Linked DNA regions of Homo sapiens: regions 1 and 2 are each linked to region 3. Evidence: promoter capture Hi-C in 16 types of primary human blood cells and fetal thymus (Javierre and others, 2016). All regions are on one chromosome and are shown on one strand. The core of a region is centred on a gene start or on the middle of the fragment in contact, and the rest is flanking DNA. Distances in the headings are between cores, read along the strand shown.

Region 1 (4,490 bases), core at 1,546-4,045, 1.2 Mb before region 3:
TAGTCAGGCTGGTCTCAAACTCCTGACCTCAGGTGATCCACCTGCCTCAGCCTCCCAAAGTGCTGGGATTACAGGCATGAGCCATCGCTCCTGGCCTTTCCTGCTTTAATATTTGACTTAACTGTCATGGCAAGAGCACTGAGATGATTTCTTTAGCTTTTTTTTTTTTTTTTCCTTTTTTCTTCTGCGAGAATCTCGTAGTGTCGTCCAGGCTGGAGTACAGTGGGGATCTCGGCTCACTGCAAACTCCGCCTCCAGGGTTCAAACAATTCTCCTGCCTCAGCCTCCTGAGTAGCTGGGATTATAGGCACCCGCCACCACACCCAGCTAATTTTTGTATTAGGGGTTTCACCATTTTGGCCAGGTTGGTCTTGAACGCCTGACATCAGGTGATCCCCCCGCCTCAGTCTCCCAAAGTCCTGGGGTTACAGGCATGAGCCACGGCGCCTGGCCTGAGATTTCTTTAGCTTTGTAATTCACCTTTAGTAATTCCATTTCTTTCCCACTAGCAAAGAAACCCTTACAGCACAAGGCTCTGGATGGTGGCACAGAGCTGGGCCCTGCCCTGAAGTTACCTAGAAAGGAGGAGAAGCACAAAGATTAGATTCTATCTAGTTAGATAAAGCATGATGTACTGAGAAAGGGAAGGAACAGACCCTGGGGGAAGAACATAGGAGTTAAAAAGTAGCTGTCCTAGATTCACTTTTCTTTCAGGAAGCAAAATCATCCCATCGCCTGGGGTTTAACTGTTGTCAAATAGTCCTCTTCCAATGCCCCCGGCAGAATGCCACAAGTCCAGGTTTGAGAGCTTTGAGGCTGGAGGCTGTGGCTCTCCTGGGGGCTTGCAGTGATGCCCTAATGTAGAGAACACTCATTGCCTCTGGCCCCTGCCCACCTCTAGGCCTCCTGGCACTTAACTCACATAGAGGCCTTTTTTGAAGTGTTTCCAGAAGGACTTTTTTTTCTTCTTCTTCAGAGCGCTGGCTTCTCACATCCAAGTCTTCTGTCACCTCCCCAGGGGGCACTTACCTGACCACTCAGCTAAATCAATGTAGCTTCCCTGTGCCCATCCGAGGAACTCAAATATCTCCTTCTTAGCACTCATCTTAATTTCTTATATTTTATTTACTTGTTTATTATGTGTTGTCCCACAAGAGACGTAAGCTCCAGGAGACAGACCACCTGTTTGTTCCCAGCTGGGTCCCCCAGGCTCCTGTTGTAGGGCCTGGCCTAGAGTGATGAATATTTGCAGTGTGAATGCAGGGGTGGATGGAGTTTCCCATATTTTCAGTCACCTGGGTGGGCCTACATCCCTAGGAAGGTACACAACACATCCTGGGAAGGACTTTCACTGATTTGGGGTTCCAGGGACCACCCAGGAAATGACATTTTTTTTTTCAGACTGAGTCTCACTCTGTTACCTAGGCTGGATGATCTCAGCTCACTGCAACCTTTGTCTCCCGGGTTCAAGCGATTCTCTCCTGCCTCAGCCTCCCTAGTAGCTGGGACTACAGGCGTGTGCCACCACGCCCAGCTAAATTTTGTATTTTTAGTAGAGACGGCGTTTCACCATGTTGGCCAGGCTTGTCTCGAACTTCTGGTCTCAAGCGATCCGCCCACCTGGGCCTCCCAAAGTGTTGGGATTACAGGCATGAACCATCACGCCTGGCCCAGGAAATGATTCTTAACTTTTGCAGGGTCTAGGATCTCTTTAGCTATTTGATAAAACCAGTGGACTCCCTTTCTCAAAAACATGAATATGCATTAAAAACTCTGCTTACATCTAGTCTATCTGGTAAATATAATTAAAAGAAAAAAGAAAAAACTCTGTTTACAGCTTGGGGGTTTAGAGACTCTCAACGCCCTAGATTTAAGAAAAGTCAAGGGGAGGAGAGATTGGAGAACGAACTTTCTACACCACAACTTCTTAGGAGAGACTTCTTAAAAGGGGGTCGTGCTGCCGGGCGCAGTGGCTCATGCCTGTAATCCCAGCACTTTGGGAGGCCGAGGCGGGTGGATCACCCTGAACGCAGGAGGCGGAGGTTGCAGGGAGCCGAGATCGCCCCACTGCACTCCAGACGGGGCGACAGAGCGACACTCCGTCTCTAAATAAATAAATAAATAAATAAATAAATAAATAAATAAATAAATAAATGGGGGCCTGCTTAAAATGATCTTTGCCCTTAGACTGCAGAGCTTACTTTTTAAAAAGTGAAATGGGGGCAGAAGGGGATAAGAAAACGCTTCTAGTTCTTTCTCTTCCAACTGCTCCCTCCCTAGGAGGCTTAGGATAAGGCAGCCCCCGGCACTTTCTGCGAGTGTATCGGAAGTATCTTTGCCAGGTTTGATAAACGTTTGCGGAAGGAATACAGGACACACTCGCGCGGCAGAATCGCGAAAAGTCCCCGGTGTTCTCCGCGCAGGGAGTTCCCCGCGCAGGGAGTTCCTAGCGGGCCACGCGCTCTCGCCTGACCACCCGCGCCGAGCTGCGGGCTGTCGGGGTACAGACGCCCGCGCGCGCAGGTGCATTCGCTCCAGGTGCGGCCGGCTCGGGGCGGGAACAGCTGCAGCCGAGGCGGGGGCGGGGAGGGGGTACAGAGGAGAGGCAGAAAGGAGGGAAGAGGAGGAGGAGGAGGAGAAGGGAGGAGAAAGGGGAAAGGAAGAAAGAAGGAGAGCAGGAGGGCGAGGAGCGGGGGGAGCGGGGAGGAGGGCGCGGGGAGGAGGCAGCGGGGAGGAGCGTGCAGGGAGGAGGCAGCCGCGCTGGGAGGAGTCTGCACACTTTCAGTGCCAGGGCATTGTGGGAAGCAGCCATGGTCTAAGCCGGGCGCCTCACCTGTCAGCCGCACCGGCTCCAGCGCTCGCCTCTCGCCCTCGCTTCTCCAGCGCTCCTTGCTCGCAAGGCGGGGGAGGCGGCGGCCCAGCCACGATGGTGAGTGCGGGGGAACCGCCGGCCCGGGTAGGCGGTGGGGGCGCTCGCGCTCCGGGGAGGCACCTGGGGCGTCCGGGCCGGGCGCGCGGCCGGGTGGGGGTGCGGGCCGAGTCCCGCCTGGCCACCCGAACCGTGCGTCCCTGTGGCCCCGCTGCCCCAGACGGTGCGGACGCGCCAGGATCGCTTGCCCGGGATTCCTGCGGCAACGCGGCGCCGCGGCGCCGCGGCTCCATTCATTCATTCGATCCGCCTTAGCCGAGTGCTTAGTCTGTGCCGGGCTCGGTGCTGGGCGCTGGGGATGTCGCGGGGGACCAGGAGGAGCCCCTGTTCTCCAGGAAGCTTACCTTCCAGGAGGGGGATGCGGAGGGAGGGACACGTCCAATATACAAGTAAAATGAAGAGAACTTCTAAAGTAAGAAGCGCTGTAAAGTCTCAAATACAACCGGGTGGAGTGGCAACTTTTGATTTGGCAAAGCCTCTTCAAGGACATGACATTCTAGCTGCTGGAGGTCCTGGAGGGGCGCTACAGGTGGATTAGAGAGAGCAAAGCGGAGGGGAGAAGGCCTTGTTTGTGGCAGGAGAGGTGGGCTTCTGCCAGGTGAGGCGGGTTTTTATAGGCCAAAATAAGGAGTTTGGTTTTGGTTCCAACTGAGTAGGGGAAACCTCGGGGACGTTTTAGCAAGAAAACTGACCTTACCCGTTGTGCACTTTTGTTTTTTTGAGACTGATCTCGCTCTGTCGCCCAGGCTGAAGTGCAGTGGTGTGGTCTCGGCTCTGCCTCCCGGGTTCAAGCGATTCTCCTGCCTCAGCCTCCCGAGTAACGGGGATTACAGGCGTGTGCCACCACACCCAGCTAATTTTTGTATTTTTAGTAGAGACGGGGTTTCACCATGTTGGCCAGGCTGGTCTCGAACTCCTGACCTCAGGTGATCCGCCTGCCTCGGCCTCCCAAAGTGTAGGGATTACAGGGGTGAGCCACTGCACCCGGCATGGTGTGCAGTTTGGCTGTGGTTGGAGAATGGACTGGGGTGTGTAAGGGCAGGGGATAGGGGGTCAGGTTGGAAGCTGAGGCCGGCCGCAGCCCTGCTGATGAGAGATCTGGTGACCTGCACTTGGGTGGAAGCGATAGCTCAGGCTCCTCTTGCTCTTGCCTGCTGTTTAGGGGCAGCCTTTTAAGAGTGTGGTGGTCTGAACGTCACTAGTCCCACTTCCCCAAGTGTGTTACCACTTCCCAAATCCGCAGAAGGGAAGTGACCTGCACCCTGTGGGCCCACCGGAGGCAGGAGTGGGTGGGCCACGTGGGCTAAGAAAGTTGATCAACAAAGAGAGCCGGGGAGTGCTGAGCACCTGGCCAGCAAGACCGCAGTTGCTGGTTTCTGTTAAAGGTTTGGCTGCACACACTAGCGGCATCATTTTTGTCTGTTGAGGGTTCCTTGTAAATACAGCGTGATGCAAAAACAATGCTGTAAATAATGGAGCAGGTTTCTTGGCTTGCTCAAGTTTCCCAAGGAACAAGGTGACAGATGCCCAGTCCACCAGTGTAATTTGCCTAACAGAGGCT
Region 2 (3,878 bases), core at 1,101-3,600, 1.3 Mb before region 3:
CAGCGATGGACAACTGAAGCCTCTGGCATCTGCCTTATGGAAAAAAGGAAAGTTGTGCCACTATATTTGAAATTGCTTCGGATTCCAATGACTTCTGTTTTTGCTTTTGGTGGGGACAGCAATTTAAAGGATAGACTCTTAGGGAGTGGAACATTTTAACATGTAGAATTTTAGGTAGCCACTCTTGAAAACCACATAAAATAAGTCCCTAAGTGCCTCAAGGCTCATTGCGCAAAATGTTTAATTGTGGCTCACTGGGGAGGTCGGTCAGCAGGTATCCTGCTGTTCTGCCAGAACTCAGCCTCCGTATCTTTTCTCTGGGGTTCTCACAAGGAGCCCAGGACATTGTCTGCCTTGGAGGTGGGTTCTCTTCTCCTCCCCTTCTCCTGTCCTTTATCAGCCTCCCTACCTGCCCTGCCCAGCCTGATGTAGTGTGGTTGCATAATTTAGTTATATGATTTGATACAAGCATACCTTGTTTTATTGTGCTTCTCAGATACTGCATTTTGTACACATTGAAGGTTTATGGCAACCATGCACCAGGCAAGTCTATCTGTGCCATTTTTCCAATACATTGTGCTCACTTTGTGTCTCTGTGTCACATTTTGGTAATTCTTGCAATATTCCAAACTTTATTATTATATCTGTTGTGGTGGTCTGTGTTCAGTGATCTTTGATATTACTATTGTAATTGTTTTGGGGAGCCACAAACTGTGCCCACATAAGATGGCAAACTTAAATGATAGTGTGTGTGATCTGAATACTCCATCAACGGGCTGTTACCCTATGTCTGTCTGTCTCTCTCTCTCTCCCTCCCTCTTTCCCTGCCTCCCTCCTTTCCCCCTTTCCCCCCAGGCCTCCTTATTCCCTGAGACACAACAATATTGAAATTAGGCCAGTGAATAACCCTACAATAGCCTCTGAGTGTTCAAGTGAAAGGAAGAGTCACATATCTCTAACTTTAAATCAAACGTTAGAAATGATTAAGCTTAGTGAGGAAGGCACATCAAAAGCTGAGACAGGCCGAAAGCTAGGCCTTTTGCACCAAACAGCCAAGTTATGGATGCAAATGAAAAGTTCTTGAAGGAAATTAAAAGTGCTAATCTAGTGAAAACATGAATAAGAAAGCAAAACAGCCTTATTGATGATACGGAGAAAGGTTTAGTGATCTGAATAGAAGATCAGACCAGCCACAACATTCTCTTAAGCCAAAGCCTCATCCAGAGCAAGGCCTTAATCCTCTTCGATTTTATGAAGCCTGAGAGGGGTGAGGAAGCTACAGAAGAAAAGTTTGAAGCTAGCAGAATTGGCACATTAGGTTTAAGGAAAGAAGCAGTCTACATAACATAAAAGTGCAAAGTGAAGCATCAAGTGCTAATGTAGAAGCTGCAGCAAGTTATCCAGAAGATCTAGTGAAGATAATTGGCAAAAGCAATTACATTAAACAATAGATTTTCAATGCAGACCAAACAATTCTTTTGGAAGAAGATGCCATCTAGGACTTTCATAGCTAGTAGAGAAGTCAGTGCCTGGCTTCAAAGCTCCAAAAGATAGGTTGACTTTCTTCTGTGGCTAATGCAGCTGGTAACTTTAAGTTGAAGTCATTGCTCATTAACCATTCCAAAAATCCTAAGACCATTAAGAATTATGTTAAGTCTACTTTGCCATGTGCTCTATAAATGGAACAACAAAGCCTGGATGACAACATGTGTGTTGACAGCATGGTTTACTGAATATTTTAGGCCCATTGTTGAGACCTACTGCTCAGAAAAAAAGATTCCTTTCAAAATATTATTGCTTGTTGGCCGGAAACGGTGGCTGACACCTGTAATACCAGCACTTTGGGAGGCCGAAGCAGACAGATCACTTGAGGTCAGGAGTTCGACACCAGCCTGGCCAACATGGCAAAATCCCGGCTCTACTAAAAATACAAAAATTAGCCAGGCACAGTTTTGCACATCTGTAAGTCCAGCTGCTCAGGAGGCTGAAGCATGAGAATCGCTTGAGCCTAGGAGGCAGAGGTTTCAGTGAGCTGAGATTGTGCCACTGCACTCCAGCCTGGGTGATGGAGTGAGACTCTGTTTCAAAAATACACATACACACACACACACACACACACGCACATATTTGTATATATATGAAATACACACACATATATATGTAAATGTATGTATATTTGCTTATTGAAAATGCACCTAGTCACCCAAGAACTCTGAGGATGGAGACATACCATGAGATTAATGTTGTTTTTCATGCCTGCTAATACAACACTCATTCTGTAGCTCATGGATCAAGGAGTAATTTCAACTTTCAAGTTTTGTGATTTAAAAAATACACTTTTGCTGGGCATACTGGCTCATGCTTGTAGTCTCAGCACTTTGGGAGGCTGAGGTGGCAGGATCACTTGAGTGACCAGCCTGGGCAGTAGAATGAGACTTTATAAAAGCCTTAAAAAAGTTAGCCAGGTGTCGTGGTGTGTGCCTGTAGTCCCAGTTACTGGGGAACCTGAGGTGGGAGGATCCCTGGAGCCTGGGAAGCATAGGTTGCAGTGAGCCTTGATTGTGCTACTGCACTCCAGCCTGAGTAACCGAGGGAGACCCTGTCTCAAAAGAAAATTTTTTTATAAGGCTATAACTGCCGTAGATAGTGCCTCTGATAGATCTGGGCAAAGTAAGTTGAAAACCTTCTGGAAAGGATTCACCATTCTAGATGTCATTGAGAACATTCATGATTCTTGAGAGAAGGTTAAACTGTCAGTATTAATAGGAATTTGGAAGAAGTTGATTCCAGCCCTCATGGATAACTTTGAGGGGTTCAAGCCTTCAGTAACTGCAGATGTGGAAATAGCAAGAGAATTAGAATTAGAAGTGGAACATATAGATGTGACTGAATTGTTGTAATCTCATGATAAAAGCTGAATGTTTAAAGAGTTTCATATGGATGAGCAAAGAAAGTGGTTTCTTGAGATGGAATCAACATCTAATGAAGATGCGGTGAACATTGTTGAAATGGCAGCAAAAGATTTAGAATATTCCATAAACTTAGGTGATGGAGGAGCAGCAGGCATTAAGAAGATTGACTCCACTTTTGAAAGAAGTTCTATTATGGGTAAAATGCTATTAAATTGCATTGCATGCTACAGAGAAGTCTTTTGGGAAAGGAAGAGTCAATCGATGCAACAAACTTCTTGGTTGTCTTATTTTAAGAAGTTGCCACAGCCACGCCAACCTTCATCAACAACCATCCTGATGGATCAGCAGCATCAACATTGAGGCAGGACCCTCCACCAGCAAAATGATTACCCCTCGCTGAAGGTTCAGATGATCGTTAACTTTTTTTTAGCAATAAAGTATTTTAAAACTAAGGTATGTACATTGATTTTTAGATGTAATGCTACTGCACACTTAACAGACTATAGTGTAACTACAGCTTGCATATGGGAAACCAAAAATTTGTGTGACTCACTTTGTTGCGACATTTGCTTTATTGTGATAAACCTGCAATATCTCTGAGGGTTATAATAATCTCTGTGTTATGCTTTTTTTTTTTTTTTTTAGGAACAAAAAAGCTGACCATTTCATAAACATTTTATTGGGGCTCCAGGACTTCATAACTATTTGTAATGATTATATAAGCTATTGAATTACTCTATCATTAACCCATTTCATTCTTTAACATATTTTCCCCATTTTTACTCCTTGGATAAAGCTTATATGAAGTTTTTTAAATTTGTAGTTCCTTTTTTATTCTATTAAATGATTTCTATAGAACCAATTTCCAAGCCTGGAATTCCTTAATCAAAGTTTATCATTAGTGTTGTTGTCATTATTATTGGGCAGGTGTATTTGTTTCTCTCTATATTGGAGCAAAATTCTTGC
Region 3 (3,829 bases), core at 968-3,467:
TTCCATGGGCCAGACATATACTGTGTGTTTCCTCACTAAGCTTGTAGACTAAGACAGCCATAGAGAACTTTCTGAAGTCACCACAGCCATACACAGATACAAGCAATGATAAGTGCCATGAAAGAAAAGAACAGTGGCTATCAGAGATGTGTTGAATGATCGGTTAGGAAGTCGGACTCCAAGTTCAGGCCATTTAAGAGAGCAGTTTAGTGGTTAAAGCAGACACTTTGGGCAGAATACTTGGGTTTGAAACCAGCTCTACCACGTCCTGCTAGCTGCATCGCCTTGAGCAATTTACTTCATCTCTTAGTTCCCTCATCTGTACCAGGAGTGTAGGAATAGTCCTTACCTCACAGGGATGTTGTGAAGATTGCTAGTTAATCGTGGATGTTGCTTAGAACAGCACCTGGCACATACCAAGCGCTAGATAAGGTCGTGTGTTGTTATCTCCATGGTGCTTTGATCCAGAGCAACCCTGCCTCACGGTGTAGTCTGTGAGGACTTAATGAGTTAACACTTTGAATTACATTTTTTTTTTTTTTTGGTAAATTCTACCTAGCAGCACAGGAGAGTCACTCGGAGAGTTCTTAAGAGGAAAAAGGAAAAAAAAAAAGGTGTACAGACTTCATTCTGAAACAAATGACTTAGAAATTCCAGGGATGAGCCGGGCGCGGTGGCTCACGCCTGTAATCCCAGCACTTTGGGAGGCTGAGACAGGCGGATCACCTGAGATTGGGAGTTCGAGACCACCCTGACCAACATGGAGAAACCCCGTCTCTACTAAAAAGACAAAATTAGCCAGATGTGGTGGCACATGCCTGTAACCCCAGCTACTCGGCAGGCTGAGGCAGAAGAATTACTTGAACCCGGGAGGCGGAGGTTGTGGTGAGCCGAGATGGCGCCACTGCACTCCAGCGTGGGCAACAAGAGTGAAACTCCGTCTCAAAGATAATAATAATAATAATAATAATAATAATAATAATAAACAAATTCCAGGATGGAGCCTGGGCATCTGCACTTTTTAGAAGCTTCTCCAGTGATTCTCATCTAGAGCCAGGGTTGAGAACCACTGATTCAGGCTTTCGAAATGTAAAAGCAGTTTTAAAAGTGTAAAACTCTCCAATGCAATGGGCTTATTACTATTATTACCACCCCAACGCTGTACAATCCATGATCTTACAGCATACACATGATCTTAGTCTTCAGAAGAGTTTATGTTTCAATAGAAGGGTCTCCCCCAAATTCCTCCCTCCTCCCACATCACCCCTATTTACTTCAAGAGCAGAACAAATATGAAGGAAAAAACAAAAAACAAAAAGAAAAACCACCCACGTTTTTGCCCCATCTAATGATTCGGCTCGTGTATGTTTCATGGGCTCAACTTGGGAACCAACTGGAACACACACGCTACTGAGTCAAACTATTTCCAGAGAGAAACCGCTCAACCAAATGCAATGAGTGGTGCAGCCTTCTTTACAGAAAGGTACTGCTATGCATCCAGGAAATCTCCAAAACGGGAAAGGGAACACTGCTCTTTGTCAGGAGGGTGGGGAGACAAAGAGGGAGAAGGAACAAGGTTTTAACTACTGAGGCATTACTTTGCCATCTATGAATCAACAGTTCGAGAAACGAGTTTGCCAACTTTTGAGGGGTTAAAGTGCTCATGCGTTCGATGGGGTCATGGTTACATTTTGGTAGATACAGTCGCCAAAAGTCATCGAGCTGTATCCGTATAACTGCGCCTTTTATTGTAGGCAAGGTGCACCTCAATTTAAAAAAGTAACGCAGGAGAAAATAAAATTAAACAGTCGTTAGCGATGAGGTTCTCGTGAGGAAACCAGAGTCCACGTTAGCTCCAAATGCCCTCTTTGACCTGCCTGCTCTGGCCGACAGGGGAACGAGGGTTGGAAGGTTCTATGCAGGTCCTGGAATCCGGACCGTCCCGAGGGAGGATATGGAGCCCAAGCCCCGCGGCCCGGGGGGCGGGGTCCTTACCGAGCAGCAGGTATTTCAGGACCCACTGCAGCACGGCCACCGTCTGCAGCCGCCGCGCCAGCTGGATGTTGAGCGGTGCAAACTCTACCTTCATGGCCTGGCCGGGCGAGGACGGCGCCAGCCACTGCAGCCTGCACCCACGCTGCTCTGCGGCGCCTGTGGGAAGTGCCCGGCCGGATCCGGGCCCCGCGCTGGGCACTGGCTGGGCGGAGAGGAAAAGGCAGAGGCTAGGCAGCGAGCGGGGACCCAACTGCGCCCTGGGTGGGAGGGCGCGCTGGGCTGAGGCTGGGGGCAGCCAATCACAAGCGCCGGGCGCCAGAGCTGGCCCAGCGCCCTGGCCCCGGAGCAGCTACAGCGGCCCGGGCGCATTGGCTGGCGCGCCGGGCGTTGGCGAGAGTGCGCCGCGTGGGACACGAGGGACGGGGAGAGGGGTCAACTGGCAGCCAGCCCGAGCCGGGCAGCGCGGGCTCCTGCCGCCTGGCTGAGGACCTGGGATCTCCACCAGGATCTGACCATTGTTCAGCTGATCGATCACCCAGCGCTTGCCTTCAGCATCCCACCCCTTCATTCGAACCCTCGGTGATTGGGGAAGGGTTAGTTTGAGGAATCGCACACCAGCTGGAGAGATGAGCGAGACTTGTTTCTTAGTTTATTGATCTGTGTCCCCCCGCAACCTCCAATTTCCCCGCGGATGGGGAAGGGGACCTGGCTTCCTCACTCTTGGGTCCTCAGTTCCCTACAGGAGCTCCGGGAATCTTTCACCCATTCATTCATTCAACCCACATTTATTGAGCACTTGCCACTTGCTGAGCACCATCCGGGCGCTTGGATAACCAAGCTGTCAAGCGCATCCGTGTGAAGAGACCACCAACAGGCATTGTGTGAGCAACAAGGCTGTTTATTCACTTAGGTGCAAGTCAGCTGAGTCCGAAAAAGAGTCAGCGAAGGGAGATGGGGAAGGGGTTGCTTTATAGGAGTTGTCTAGGTAATGGAAAATTACAGTAGAAGGTGGTTATCTATTGTTAGCAGAGGAAGGGGTCACAAGGTACAGGGTGGGGAGATCATAAGACTCATTGTCCAGAAGAAGAATGTCACAAAGTCGATTGATCGGCTAAGGTAGGGCAGGGACAAGTCACAATGGTAAAATGTTGTAATGTTGGTTAATCAGTTAAGGCAGGAACTGGCTGTTTTACTTCTTTGCGTTTTTTTTGGCTGCTCCAGGCTTCTTGGCTCCTGCAGGCCACCTGGATGTGTACATGCAGGTCACAGAGGTTATAATGGCTGAGCTTTGGCTCAGAGGCCTGACACAAGCTATTCATTGTCTTGTTCTCAGAGTACAGGGGGAAACAGACATAAGCAAAACAACTACACAATTTGGTGTATAATTACAAGTAAGACCCTACTGTGAATGACTAGAAGATTCCAAAACCAAGACTGCTGCACGGTCAGGGAAGTGTCTGAAGAAGTGCCCTTACTTGAGCTGTAGCCAAATCTAGTTAACCCAGGAGTCATCCGGGCAAAGGGAAGCACATATGCAAAGGTCCTGTGGCTGAACTCCAAGAAGAGCTCAAAGAGTGAGAGCTTGGGGGACAAGGGTGAGATTGGGGTGACATCAGGCAAAAATGGTGGGCAAGGTCCAGACCCTTGCAGACTGAGTTAGGGTTCAAGTTTGAACCCCAAGAGCAGTACAAGACACTGAAGGGTTTCAATTACGATGTGCTAAATGGATGGCTAGATTCTAAATAGTGCCTAGTCCTTGGGAGCAACCACTGCACTTTATTTATAAATATTAATTACCACATAGTTGAAAAACTCAAAATGATGAGCAGCTGTC

Evidence for each region. Contacts are between HindIII fragments. The CHiCAGO score rates a contact against its expected background, and 5 or more counts as called.
Region 1: the fragment with the promoter of AP1S3 here is called in contact with the fragment with the promoter of MOGAT1 in region 3 in 1 of 17 cell types (M0 macrophages); the score reaches 9.3 in M0 macrophages.
Region 2: a contact is called between a fragment that was not itself captured here and the fragment with the promoter of MOGAT1 in region 3, in 2 of 17 cell types (M0 macrophages and M1 macrophages). The highest score is 5.2, in M0 macrophages.

Annotation. Positions count from the first base shown.
Region 1 is chr2:223,835,887-223,840,376 of GRCh38, reverse strand. AP1S3 (adaptor related protein complex 1 subunit sigma 3) reads left to right here and starts at 2,795. Exons shown (of 5, transcript NM_001039569.2): 1 at 2,795-2,929. The coding sequence starts at 2,927. RefSeq lists enhancers at 2,249-2,428, 3,299-3,388 and silencers at 2,599-2,728, 2,759-3,188. The HindIII fragment of the contact is 4,145 bases long and covers 1-3,270 here.
Region 2 is chr2:223,924,893-223,928,770 of GRCh38, reverse strand. The region is part of intron 1 of WDFY1 (WD repeat and FYVE domain containing 1); the gene reads left to right. Among named protein-coding and RNA genes, the nearest start is that of WDFY1, 19 kb to the left of the region's middle. The HindIII fragment of the contact is 2,720 bases long and covers 991-3,710 here.
Region 3 is chr2:222,670,046-222,673,874 of GRCh38, reverse strand. MOGAT1 (monoacylglycerol O-acyltransferase 1) reads right to left here and starts at 2,217. Exons shown (of 6, transcript NM_058165.3): 1 at 1,996-2,217. The coding sequence starts at 2,089. LOC124907985 (a long non-coding RNA gene) reads right to left here. Exons shown (of 2, transcript XR_007088095.1): 2 at 2,873-3,239. The HindIII fragment of the contact is 3,409 bases long and covers 1,031-3,829 here.